2 separate regions of the Homo sapiens genome follow, and region 1 is linked to region 2. Evidence: promoter capture Hi-C in 16 types of primary human blood cells and fetal thymus (Javierre and others, 2016). All regions are on one chromosome and are shown on one strand. The core of a region is centred on a gene start or on the middle of the fragment in contact, and the rest is flanking DNA. Distances in the headings are between cores, read along the strand shown. Region 1 holds the start of FHIT (fragile histidine triad diadenosine triphosphatase). Region 2 holds the start of CCDC66 (coiled-coil domain containing 66).

Region 1 (6,035 bases), core at 2,678-5,177, 4.7 Mb before region 2:
CCAAACTTTCTATACTTTGTATTACAAAAATAATGCATTGTTTCTCCTTTTTTCTAATATAATATTTTTGTATTAGATATTATTTTTTCAAATAAATTTGTAATAAATTACAAATAAATAAAGATTCTTGTCTGAAGGTCTGAATTATGACCTGTAACATATGGCTAAGATGAATTATGCAGAGGGTTGAACTCTTTGACCTCTACGGACTTTTTAGTTTTGAAATTCTGTTTCCATGGTAAAGATTTCCTTGTAGGCCATGTGTGCTTGAAGAGGATGCTGTTGGAAGTGTTTGACTAAAGCCAGAGAACATTATGTGACCTCCAGTTTTTCTACACACAAGGATGGCCCCAAGCTTCGTGATAATGGGGGGTTATGGTGTAGTTACCAGTGCCTCTTACCTTTATGATTTAGTTGAATGATACAAATGGTACAAATGTCAGGCTCTTCTAGTACTTACCCTGTTTACTTTTTGTAGCCATAATATAGTCATTTGTTAACCACATATTTATTGAGTGCTGACTAATGAATAACACAAAAATAAAGTTTGTTTTTTTTTTTTTTTTGAGATGGAGTCTCGCTCTGTCACTTGGGCTGGAGTGCAGTGGCACAATCTTGGCTCACTGCAGCCTCTGCCTCCCAGGCTCAAGTGATTCCTTGCCTCAGCCTCCCAAGTAGCTGGGACTACAGGTGTGAGCCACCATGCCTGGCTAATTTTTGTATTTTTGGTAGAGATGGGTTTTCACCATGTTGGCCAGGCTGGTTTCAAACTCCTGACCTCGTGATCTGCCCACCTCGGCCTCCCAAAGTGCTGGGATTACAGGCATGAGCCACCGTGCCTGGCCTGAAAACAAAGTTCTTACCTTCATGGAGTTTACCTTTTGTTTGAAGGAGACAGATGATAAACAAAAGGACAAATAAATGTGGGTATAATTTCAAGTAAAGATATTTGCTATGAAGAAGTACTATAATGGCACAATCCACAGAAGTCTTTCACAAAATTGTCTTCTGGGTCTAAAAGTCACCCAGATCTTGATGCTACCTTCTTAAAATATCCACACCCTTTACTCATGTTTCAAGACCATAAAATGAAAAACACAATGTTTTTAACACGTTTCTTTAAATGTCCTTTTCCCCTTTTCTTAATCTTCTTTCTCCTTGCACTACCATGCCCCAAAGCTCCCAAAGCACCCTCCTTAAATGCCCAAAGAGTTCCTATTCCCCAGTGTAAATGAGGCTTCTGCTATTGTTTGGTTTGTATGTCTTAGTGAGGATTTAGAAAGTACAATCTATCTTAATTGTTGATGAGTGATAGAAGGTGGTAGGCTGCTTGGGCTTTTTGTATTTATCTACTTAGTTTCTGACTTATTCTTATTCTGTTAGTTTCAGTGACATGAGCTTGTGGTAAACCAAAGCCACCTGTAGCAGATATTATTGGTGCCCCGCCAGTATGCTATATTCCCTTACTATTTCAGCGTATACCAATGTGACTCTTAATTCTTCTATCTCTGGCTTTCTGTGGCCACTGAGGCAACTCTGTCTACTCTTGGAGCATTGCAGACAAGCCAGGGTCTTAATAATCCCTGAAAGCTGCCCCCAATCATTGACTGACGGTAGTTGGTGTTTAAACAACCCAGTTATCTTGTCCTCTTGGTGGAATCACTCAGTCTAAGGTACATGTTCCATATTGTTTCCCAGAGATTTCTAGGAGGATTAAGTTCTGGGTGCCTCTAGCGGTAATGTGCTAGATAAGGCATCTTTTTGGTCTTCTCTTCCCTATTTCACTTTCTTAGTCTCTTACTGGTGTTTCCTGCGATAACCTCCTAAATAAAATACTTGCTCTTGAATACCTGTCTCCAGATCTGCTTCTGGGAGAACCCATACTAAGGTGGTTATTAATTCAGTCAAGTTGCAGATCAGACAGTAACCTCCCACTGATTGTCTTGGCACTTGAAGGTCCTGAATCCAATGCAAGTTCTATGTCTTCATGCTCTTTGTGAATGTATCTGTTGCTCAAGGTCGTGGGTGACCTTGAGCCCAGCAGTCAGCATTATCCACAGCTGAAGTAATACCTATGTGCTCATATTAGGCTATCTGACAACAGTGCAATAATCATTAGACACCACTGTTTAGACCCTGAGTATGTTCATGACATTTGCCTTTTGACTGCTAAGTAGAAGATGTAATGATTATAGGCTGATGCTTTCTCAGGAGGAGGAAAGTTATTGAGCTTTACAGTTTCAAATGCTTCTGATTTTCTTCCACGTTTAGTCTGGCTGCTGACACATGTGTTGAAATCTCTCATGTCGATCAGCTTGAGAATAGCTGGGACTGCTGAGCTAAGTCTGTGCTCATAAAAGCAACAAAGAATTGTATTACAGGAAATGACCCCAAATTGACAGAAGATTAGGCTAGGAAGCCTGAACAGGTGTTTTAATCTCTATGCACAAAATCAGTCTGTACATATATTGCTCACATTCCTGCTGTTTTAACTATATTTTTTTTTTCAATTTCACTTTGTTATTCACAATTTGATAATATTTTATGTGGCCATGGTGTCTGTGTGATGAACTATAATCCAATGTGACATTCTCTGAGAGTCAAGCTTCCAAGGACATCAGATTTTCACACCAGGACACTTTGTAGGACACCTTGCTACTCTCCATGGGATTCAAATATTAGAAATAATGAGAGATCTAAGACTTGATGTAATTGCCTGCATGTAATGAATCAGGCCAAATAAAAAAGTGAGAGACAGAGAAAGGAAATGGTGCTAAGGAAAATGGGGACCTATCTTAGTGTTTGTCTGAGAGAAAACTGCTCTTTGTTTTTCCCGATGTAATGGCAAGAGTCTGCAGCCAGGAATCTAGTCCTTGCTTAGGAGCTGCATGACCTTGTGAAAATTACGTAGGTGTTCTGCAATTTGTAATTGCATTTATTGTAAAATTAATTTTACTTTTCATACGTCACTAGACAGAGCATTTTGAGGTTAGGAATTGGGTCTGAATCAATGATTTCTCCAGCACCCACATGGCATTTGGCACAGAATACATCAATAATGATTTTGGATTAAACAGGGGAACAAGCACAAGGAACCATGGTGGTCAGAAACGGGTTGATCTGCACCAGAGAAAGGGAGACTAGGGGAGAAAGGTCACTCTAGATTTCGTTCAATTATTGAAAATACGGTGTATTTACTATGTGCTGGGCACTTTTCTAGGTGCTAGAAAGACTACAGTGACCAAAACAAAAATCCACATCTGCAGGGATCTTGCATTCTAGTGAGAAAGTAAGATGGTAAAAAAGATAAATACGTAAATTTTATACAATGCTTCGTAACGACAAATGCTAAGGAGAAAAACAGCACAGAAAAGACAGAAAGGAAAAGAGAAGGGGCGCATGTGGTGCAATTTTGTTAGGATGCCAGGGAGGGCTGAGCGTAGTCGTAAATGACCACATTATTTGATGGATCAAGCCAGGGACTGCAAGTCTGTGTTTCTGAGAGACACATAAAGAAAAGAAGGCTTAAGGAATCCAGAAAGATCCAGAGTGGGGAAATGAAACGAAAAGAAATCCAGCCAGTGGGAAGTCGTGAAGGGATAGTTAAACGCGTTTTGGGAGGAAAGAAAAAAGCAAAAGTGCGGTACAGCCTTTCGTTACACGTGAAAAGAATCATGTTTCTTTTTCTAGTTAGAAAAAGCCAAAGATTGTGCGATTTATGCCCCAAACCCCCTTGTAAGGGGATTCTCACCTCAACTTGTCTTCTGTGGTCAGTGTTTCCCGCCCCTGAATCAGGGTTACTGTCACTATGGCTTTCAATTGGCCCGGCGTAGGCGCATGCTCTGCGCGTATTGGCCTCCGCTCCTGTCCCCAGACAAGCGGCCATCTTGGGTCCCGCCCCTACCGTGGGGTCTTCTGGGAATTGCAGTCCCCGCTCTGCTCTGTCCGGTCACAGGACTTTTTGCCCTCTGTTCCCGGGTCCCTCAGGCGGCCACCCAGTGGGCACACTCCCAGGCGGCGCTCCGGCCCCGCGCTCCCTCCCTCTGCCTTTCATTCCCAGCTGTCAACATCCTGGAAGGTAGGGGCGGGGAGGCAAGCCCAAGTGGAATACTGTTTCTGGGGCGCGGGTCTGGGTTTCCACGCGCGTCAGGTCATCACCCCGGAGCCCAGTGGGGCCGGCGCCGCTCACGGGGCGGTGGGCTTCTGTCCCGAGTACTCTTCCGCCCCACGAGGGTCTCAGGGTGGGGACTCGGGCCCCCCAATTCCCAAGCACCGACCCTAGCCCTAACCCGTTCCTCCTCCACCGTGTTTATACATTGGGGAAACTGAGGCACGGGGCCACGCCAGCGGGTCCGGGGACGCCACAGCTCTTGGCTCTGGGGGTGTAGTCGGCACCCGCCGTTTTGGGATGGTTCGTCAGTTTCATAGACAAGTAGCGAAAATCCGTCCCAACAGGTCTGTGTTAAACACGCAGCTCTGGATTCCCCTAAGGGGTTGCTGAACACGTGCCCAGGACAGGAGCAAACCGGAGTATAGAGAAGGCAGCATTTTGGGAGATAATTTTACATTACTACTTCAAAAACAGGCAAAGAGGCATCGAATTTATTGTTGTGGGAGAACTCATCGGTACTTGGTCGGACTTTCTTACACTTATTTTATGGTTGTTGTTTTTATTTTTAGCGTCAAAGGGGGGAATTTTAAAGGTATATCCAAGTTGGTGGTGGTGGGGGGTAAGGAGGCAGGTTAGTGGAACTTGAGATGCATCTGCAGATTTCTCTGTAGGCTCACATTCTGCCCTCGCTGTGTTACCTTGGAACAGCCACTCACAGCGCTTATCTGGGAAACAAGGAGCTCAATGCTCCCAGGTCAAGTGGCCAAAGGATGTTGCCTGAAGCCGAAATCTAAATTGAGGTTATGCTTGTGAAAGTTTACCACTTGCAGATTTACTGCTATTATTATTCTGGTCTCTCAGAAATGTGCTGGGACCAATAGAAAATACTCACAGTGGTTGTTTTAGTAAGGTTCTGACCTGGGCCGGGCCCAGACTACCAAGGGTGGTCCCTACTCGCACCTGATGTTAAGCCGGATCTACCTGAACTCTCCCTCCTTGGCTTCAGCCTGCGGCCTGAGGCCTTGGCCGCGGAGGCTTCTGGGAGTTGCAGTCCCGCCTCTTGTTTCTCGTCGGGCAGGTACTCCACCTCGTGGCGTGCCATTTTGCACGGCGAGATGTCTCCTGGGAGACGAAGTCTCGCTTCTAGCCGTTCTGTAGAGCAGCCGCTTGACTCGGAACTACAACTCCCATGTGGACCTGCGTTCATGGCTGCCGGCCTGTGTCCACCTGCTGCAACCTGGACTAGAAATATTTAGTAAAGAAAGAAGTCTAGGGTTTGTGTGTGTGTGTGTGTGTGTGTGTGTGTGTGTGTGTGTGTGTGTGTGTGTGTGTGTTGTTATTGATTGCATATGCTGTTCTAAGTGTTAGATATGGGATTGTTGTATACGGTGTTCCAAGTATTAACGTACATGCTTCCAAAACCACTAACACTTGACCATTTAGAACCTGTTCACATGATCTCTTTTTAATACTACATTTCCCATTTGTATATGAGAAAAAACTTGAGAAGATAGCCCATGATTACACAGCTAGCAATATAATATATATTCAATAAAATATATGTGTTATAATTTAATCCTCTTAAAAGCTATATGAGAGTGAGAACCATTTTTATATCAACTTTACAGATTAGAAAACTAAGGCTAGGAAAGTTAAGTAACTTGTTCAAGTTAAAACACTGGTGAATAAAAGGACTGAGACTGTAAGCCCTTCTGCTTAACAGTCTCTGCTTAGAGAAAGACCTTACCTTACAGAGCTGAGGAGGAGTCCAACCTTTCTGGCTACAGAATTTGGAATCTTTTAATTATACCATGCTGCCTCTGTACTTAGATACTAAACATTTGAGCTGCAAAAACCTTTGAGATCATTTAATTCTAATGCAAAGATCTTGGAACACTTCTTGGCCTATAATAAAGATTCCATA
Region 2 (6,818 bases), core at 1,323-3,822:
GACCAATCTGAAAGCAAGAAAATAATAACTCCTCACTATAATTCCAAACCCCTTAGAACACTTGACATTTCCCAGGAATTATTTTCTAACCACTATAAATAAAACTGCATTTTACATTTGAAAACAGGTCAGGTCAAAGTTATACGGCTTACCTTCACAGAAATTTTTGATTTATGTTCTACAAAAGAAAAAAGAAATTACTAAACTATCCACCAAAAGCATACTAAGGTGGTAATGCAAGAAAACTGTAATTAATATTGTTATAAGATTTTAAGCTAGCAACATTATCCTCGAAAGCATAAACTTTAGATCTTGACTGAGTATTTTTTTCTAATCCAGTTCAAGGATTTACTTCTATTTTATTTTTGTTTTTTATCTTTCCAAGGTAAAACTATAAACAGAAAAAAAAATGCGAAGGAGAAGGTACCAAAGTACACTGAGTTTAAAAACGAATACTAAAAGTGACTTTAGCATTTTACGGTGGTCTTACTATAAACTTTTCTCAAATGATACATTCTTTACATGCAAAGAACATAATTACATAAATTTTACTTGTATTATTCATCAGGCAATGAGGATATTTGCTATATGGATATAATGAACACGCAATATACTGGAACATTAAATGTTATGAGTCTGAATACTGACAGTAGTAAGCAGTGTTGTAATCTGATTTTATTTGGCTAGAAGGAAATCTGCAGAAGTTTGAGGAAACAGCTTTTTCTAAAATATCATTTAAATATCACTCTATTACAAGCAAAAAGTCTGTTGAACTAATATAAATTTTATGTATGAATTTAAAAGTTAACATTTCAGATTTCTGTAACACAACATACCATATGGAGACAATATTAGCTTGGTTTTTCCATCCAGTAATTCAGTTTCAAGCTTTAAACCATCTCTGTAATAAAAAAAGAAAGTTGTCTCTCATTTTTAACAAACCGCAACATTTTAAATAACCAGAAATGTTCATTTGAACCTGACAATAAATCCATTATTTTGAATTTATGCAGGAATCTTGTACACATCGAACCAGTGTTTTAATTAAAAACGTTTGCAATCCAAGATAAAACCCACAACTACAGGGGGAAAATTCTTGAAACTCTTCAATACTACAAGCATTGTTATCATTAACCTGAAATCTCATTTTGTTATTGGTAAACTATAAATTAAGTTATCATACCACCATTTTTTAATAATGCTGTTACCAAAACTCCTCACATAAGTTAAAGGAACAAGATATATTTAACCGCCATTCATTAGTTTCATAATGAACTCATGACTAAAACATTCTATGGAGTGCTGGAGCATCGATATGACTACTAACAATGCCATCAAGGTTAGTAACTGCTTGAGCAAAGAGTACCACTTTCAATATTTCAAATAATACATAGTGATATTTAGTATGGTGCTTTATACGTGCATATCAGAAGCAAAGGCATAAAGTAACAGTAGCCACTGCCAACAAAACTTGAACGTCTGTTAAGGTCCTAAAACTCCACTGAGAACAAAAATGGCAGCCCATACATACAGTCCATAATTCAGAGAGAGAAAATTAAATCCAGCAAGCCAGTCAAGGGAGAGAGAGGCTGGGAAAGGTCTGATTAGGAATGCGAAATTTGCGGTGTTGCTCAGGTAGGGGAAATCAAATTACCTCACCTTAACTATTAAAGGTAAAACACTGGAAAGAATAGGTTTTACGGCTTTCCTTATTGTAGGGTTATGAACAGTTCGTGTTTATGTTGGTGAAACGTCACCAAGAAAGAAAAGAGCTTCAATGGTAAAGTACCTTCAATGACGCACTGCACTGTAATCTCCTTAAGGGACACACTATCTTATTTATTTCCATATCCCCAGATTCTAAAACATAATAACATTTGCTGAACGATGTGTAGTTAGGTCTGAGTTTGGTGGCTTCTCATCTTCTCAAAATATCAAACTTGCGAGTGATGAAGACCATGCACCAGCCCTTTTTATTTATTCACCCCTACTTAAGGAGCGCCTACTAGGTGTTAGGCACTGGTACTACATCGATTTCTTGAGAAGCCTGGTTCCCCGCCTCGTGGGCCTAAAACGAATTTGGGCGTTTCAACATTCTGCAAGACTCCAAAAACAAGGTGGCGAAGAACCCGGGGCATGGGCCAGGAGTCCTCCCCAGGAGCCGCCACGCTTCCTCTAACTGTCTCGTCATTTCTCTCCTTTCCTCCTCACCTCTCTTCCCTCCTCATCCTGAGGTAAATAAGGGACCGAAAGGGGATCACTGGCAGTTTTAATGCTAGTCATTAAGTGAAAACGTAAGGTCTGTGGAGTCGCTAAGGGCCGACCCATCTGCCTCGATCTTCTACCCGAGAACTGGGCTCTGCCCCTCTCGGCGGCGCAGGTTGGGAACGTTCTCCAGTAAAGACTCCAAGGGACAACCCAGACACACATGCCTCCCTCTCCGCTGACGACCACCTTGCTTACCCCAGCTTACCCCAGCTTACCCCTGCTTACCCCAAGTTCATGGCCTGACCTCGCACTCTCTCCACAGAACGCTCAAGCCCCTTGTGTACGTCGGTTGCCGCCGCCGCTCAGCAAGCGCTACGCCAATTGGATATAGGGGTGCCGGCGAGCTGAGCAAGTGGACCAATCAGGGTGGGGCATGCTGGCGGGTGCGCTGAGCTGGGCCGGGGCTCCCGCGGGGACGGTTGCGTATGCCGTTTGTTCCCCTTTTGTGCCCCGTTTGTGCCGTTTGTTCCCCTACGCACAGCGGAATTTGGCCTGACCCGGCTTATGAGTCTAAAGCTTCGGTGGCGGAGACCTGCGCTTCTCGCAATTGTAGCCTTCCAAAGCGCGTACACAGACACACACACACACACACACACACACACACACACACACACACACACACACACACACACACACCTTTTTGGGGTCACCATTTGCAAGTAAGTTACAGACATTGTAACACTTAACCCTTTAACATTGCAGACATTGTAACACTTAACCCTTTAACATTGCAGCATGTATCTCCTAAGAATAGATGTTCTGCTACATAACCGCAGTACAATTATTATACCTAAGATCATTAATTTCATAATAATTCTCTTCCCGATTTAATTTCCCCCACTTGTCCTAAGAATATCTTATAGGCATTTTATTTAGAAAGCAAGAGCCAATCGCGCCACTGCATTCCAGCAGCTTGGGCGACAGAGTGAGACTCCGTCTCAAAAAAAAAAAAAAAAAATGCAAGAGCCGATCAAGGATCACACATTACATTTGGTTGTTAAGTATCTTTGCACACACTCTTTCCAGACAAAAACAATGAAAGGTATTAATTATTAAATGCCTGACAAACCTTTACTTTTTTATTTTTTATTGTTGTAATATGTGTGTTAAAATTTGCTATTTTTAGCCATTTTCAAGTGACAATTCCATGATACAATGTTGTGGAATACGCCAGTATATTTTTCCAAAAGCTTTTTAGTACCCCCAAATAAAAATTCTGTACCCATTAAGCAACAACTTCCCATTTTCCTCTCCCCTCAATCCTAAGAAACCTCTAATCTTATTTCTGTCTCTAGGAATTTGCCTATTATAGATACTTCATGTCATAAAAGTGGAATCATACAATATTTGTCCTTTTGTGTCTTCTCTCAAGTAACATAATGTATTCAAGGTGCATCCATGTTGTAGGATGTATCAGAGCTTCATATCTGTTTATGATTGAATAGTATTCCATTCTATGTATATATATACCACAATTCGTTTACTCATTCATCCATTAATAGACATTTGGGTTGTTTCCATCTTTTAGTTATTGTGAATAATGCTGTAGTGAACACTGATGTACAAGTATCTGTTTGAATCCCTATTTTCAATTTTCTTGGTATACACCTAAGAGTGGAATTACTGGGTCACATGGTAATTCTATGGTTAACTTTTCGAGAAACTGCCAAACTGTTTTCATAACAGTTGCAGCATCTTACATTTCTGCCAGCAATGTATATGAGGTTCTAATTTCTTCACCCCAACACTTGCTTTTTCTTTTTCTTTTCTTTCTTTTTTTTTTTTTTTTAGAGACAGGGTTTTGCTCTGTCACCCAGGCCGCCTACATTGGTACGAACATAACACTGTAACCTCGAACTCCTGGTCTTAAATGATCCTCCTGTCTCAGCCTCCCAAGTAGCTAGGGCTACAGGCATGCACCACTACGCCTGGTTAATTTTTAAAAAAATTTTTGTAGAGACAGAGTCTGTTTACGTTGCCCAGGCTGGTCTCAAACTCCTGGCCTCAAGTAGTCCTCCCACCTCAGACTCCCAAAGTGCTGGGATTATAGGCGTGAGCCTGTAGCCAGAATGATTTCTAAAATGTGAATCTGCTTAATTCACTCTGCTTCTTAAAATCTCTCAATATAGGAGAACGTCCTTAACTTGATAAGCAATATCTACAAAAAATCTCCTAGAGACCGGGTGTGGTGGCTTATGCCTGTAATTGCAGCACTTTGGAAGGCCAAGGCAGGAGGATTGCTTGAGTGTAGGAGTTCGAGACCAGCCTGGGCAACATGGTGAGACTCTATCTCTATTTTTTAAAAAAATCCTGTAGAGCCCAATATCACACTTAACAGTGAAAAAGTGCAACTTTTCCACTGAGATTGGGAACAAGAGCAAGGCAAGAATGTCTCTTCTTATCACTGCTTTTCAACATCACACTGGAAGTCTGAGCTAATCCTAAGACTTAGCCTTAGTCCTAGCTAAGACAAGAAAAAGAAATAAGTATACAGACTGGGAAGAAAGAAAGAAAACTTTGTTTGCAGATGACATGATTGTCTATGTAGAAAATCTGAAAGAAGCCACAAAAAATCCTCCTGGAATTAATAAGTGAGTATAGTGGCATTGCAGAATGCAAGGTTAATACACAAAAGCCAATTGCTTTCCTGTATGTCAGCAATGAACAAATAGAAGCTGAAAATAAAAACACGATACTGCCCAGGCGCGGTGGCTCACGCCTATAATCCCAGCACTTTGGGAGGCTGAGGCGGGCGGATCACGAGGTCAGGAGATCGAGACTGTCCTGGCTAACACGGTGAAACCCCGTCTCTACTAAAAATACAAAAAATTAGCTGCGTGTGGTTGCAGACGCCTGTAGTCCCAGCTACTCAGGAGGCTGAGGCGGGAGAATGGCCTGAACCCAGGAGGTGGAGCTTGCAGTGAGCCGAGATCGCACCACTGCACTCCAGCCTGGGCAACAGAGAGAGACTCCGTCACAAAAACAAACAAACAAACAAACAATACTATTCACATTAGCATCCCATCAAATCAAATGCTTAGGTATAGATCTAACAATATATGTATAAAATCTATATGAGGAAAATTACAAAACTCTGATGAAAGAAATCAAAGAACTAAATAAATGGAGAGATATTCTGTGTTTATAGATTGGAAGACTCAATATTGTCAAGGTGTCAGTTCTTCCCAACTTGATCTATAGATTCAACACTATGCCAATCAAAATCCCAGCAAGTTATTTTGTGGATATCAACAAACCGAATCTAAAGTTTATATGGAGAGACAAAAGACCCAGAACAGCGAAAACAATATTGAAGATGAACAAAGTCAGAAGACTGACACTACCCGACATCAAGACTTACTATAAAGCTACAGTAATTAAAACAGTGTAGTATTAGTGAAAGAATAAACAAATAGATAAATAATAAAACAGAGTGCCTAGAAATAGACCCACATAAATAGTCAACCGGTCTTTGACAAAGGAGTAAAGCCAAAACAAAGGAGAAAAGATTATCTTTCAACAAATGGTGCTGGAACAATTGGATATCCACATGCAAAAATATTAGTCTGACCCAAACCTTGCATTCTTCACAAAAATGAACTCAATATAGAACAGAGTCCTAAATGTAAAATGCAGAACTGTATAACTCCTAGAAGAAAACATAGGAGAAAATCTAGATGACTTTGGGTTTGATGATAACTTTTTTTTAACAAGCCCACAGCTAACATCATATGATGATAACTGTTTAGATGCAACACCAAAGGCATGATCCATCAAAGAAAGAATTGATAAGCTGGACTTCATTAAAATCAAAATTTTCCATTTTGTAAAAGACACCGATAAGAGAAAGAAAAGATAAGCCACATTCTAAGAGAGAATATTTACCAAAGACATATCAGATAAAGGACTGTTATTCAAAATATAAGAAAAGATCTTTAAACTCAACAATAAGAACATAAACAACCCAATTTTAAAAATGAGCCAAAGACCTTGATGAATGCCTCACCTAAAAAGATGCTGAATACAGATGGCAAATAACCATATGCAAGATGCTATATGTCATATGTCATCAGGAAATGCAAAATAAGACAACAATGAAATACTATTACACACCTATTAGAATGGTCAAACTCTAGATCACTGATAACACAAAGTGCTGGTGAGGATGCAATCTCATTCATTGTTGGTGAGAATGCAAAATGGTGTAGCCACTTGGAAGACATCTTGGTGATTTTCTTTTAGTTTTTTGTTTTCGTTGTTGAGACAGGGTCTCACTGTGTTGTCCAGGCTGGAGTGCAGTAGCGTGATTTTGGCCCACTGCAGTCTTGAACTGCTGGGCTCAAGAAATCCTCCCACCTCAGCCTCCTGAGTAGCTAGGACTACAGGCGTGTGCCACCATGCCTAGCTAATTTTTGTATTTTTTTGTGGAGATGGGCTTTTGCCATGTTGCCAAAGCTGATCTTGAACTCCTGAGCTCAAGGGATCCACCTGCCTCGGCCTTCCAAAGTGCTGGAATTATAGGCATGTGCCACTGTACCTGGCATTTGTGG

Evidence for each region. The method cuts DNA at HindIII sites, captures the fragments that hold promoters and counts their contacts. A CHiCAGO score of 5 or more calls a contact.
Region 1: the fragment with the promoter of FHIT here is called in contact with the fragment with the promoter of CCDC66 in region 2 in 1 of 17 cell types (total B cells); the score reaches 6.3 in total B cells.

Annotation. Positions count from the first base shown.
Region 1 is chr3:61,249,344-61,255,378 of GRCh38, reverse strand. It overlaps FHIT (fragile histidine triad diadenosine triphosphatase), which reads left to right and starts at 3,927. Exons shown (of 10, transcript NM_002012.4): 1 at 3,927-4,078. LOC124909387 (a long non-coding RNA gene) reads right to left here and starts at 3,787. Exons shown (of 2, transcript XR_007095939.1): 1 at 3,752-3,787. RefSeq lists enhancers at 3,830-4,124, 4,189-4,248, 4,379-4,508, 4,649-4,778, 5,059-5,338. The HindIII fragment of the contact is 4,935 bases long and covers 2,608-6,035 here.
Region 2 is chr3:56,552,929-56,559,746 of GRCh38, reverse strand. It overlaps CCDC66 (coiled-coil domain containing 66), which reads right to left and starts at 2,572. Exons shown (of 18, transcript NM_001141947.3): 1 at 2,494-2,572; 2 at 837-901; 3 at 153-178. The coding sequence starts at 2,504. RefSeq lists enhancers at 2,157-2,316, 1,785-2,456, 2,457-3,129. The HindIII fragment of the contact is 1,896 bases long and covers 891-2,786 here.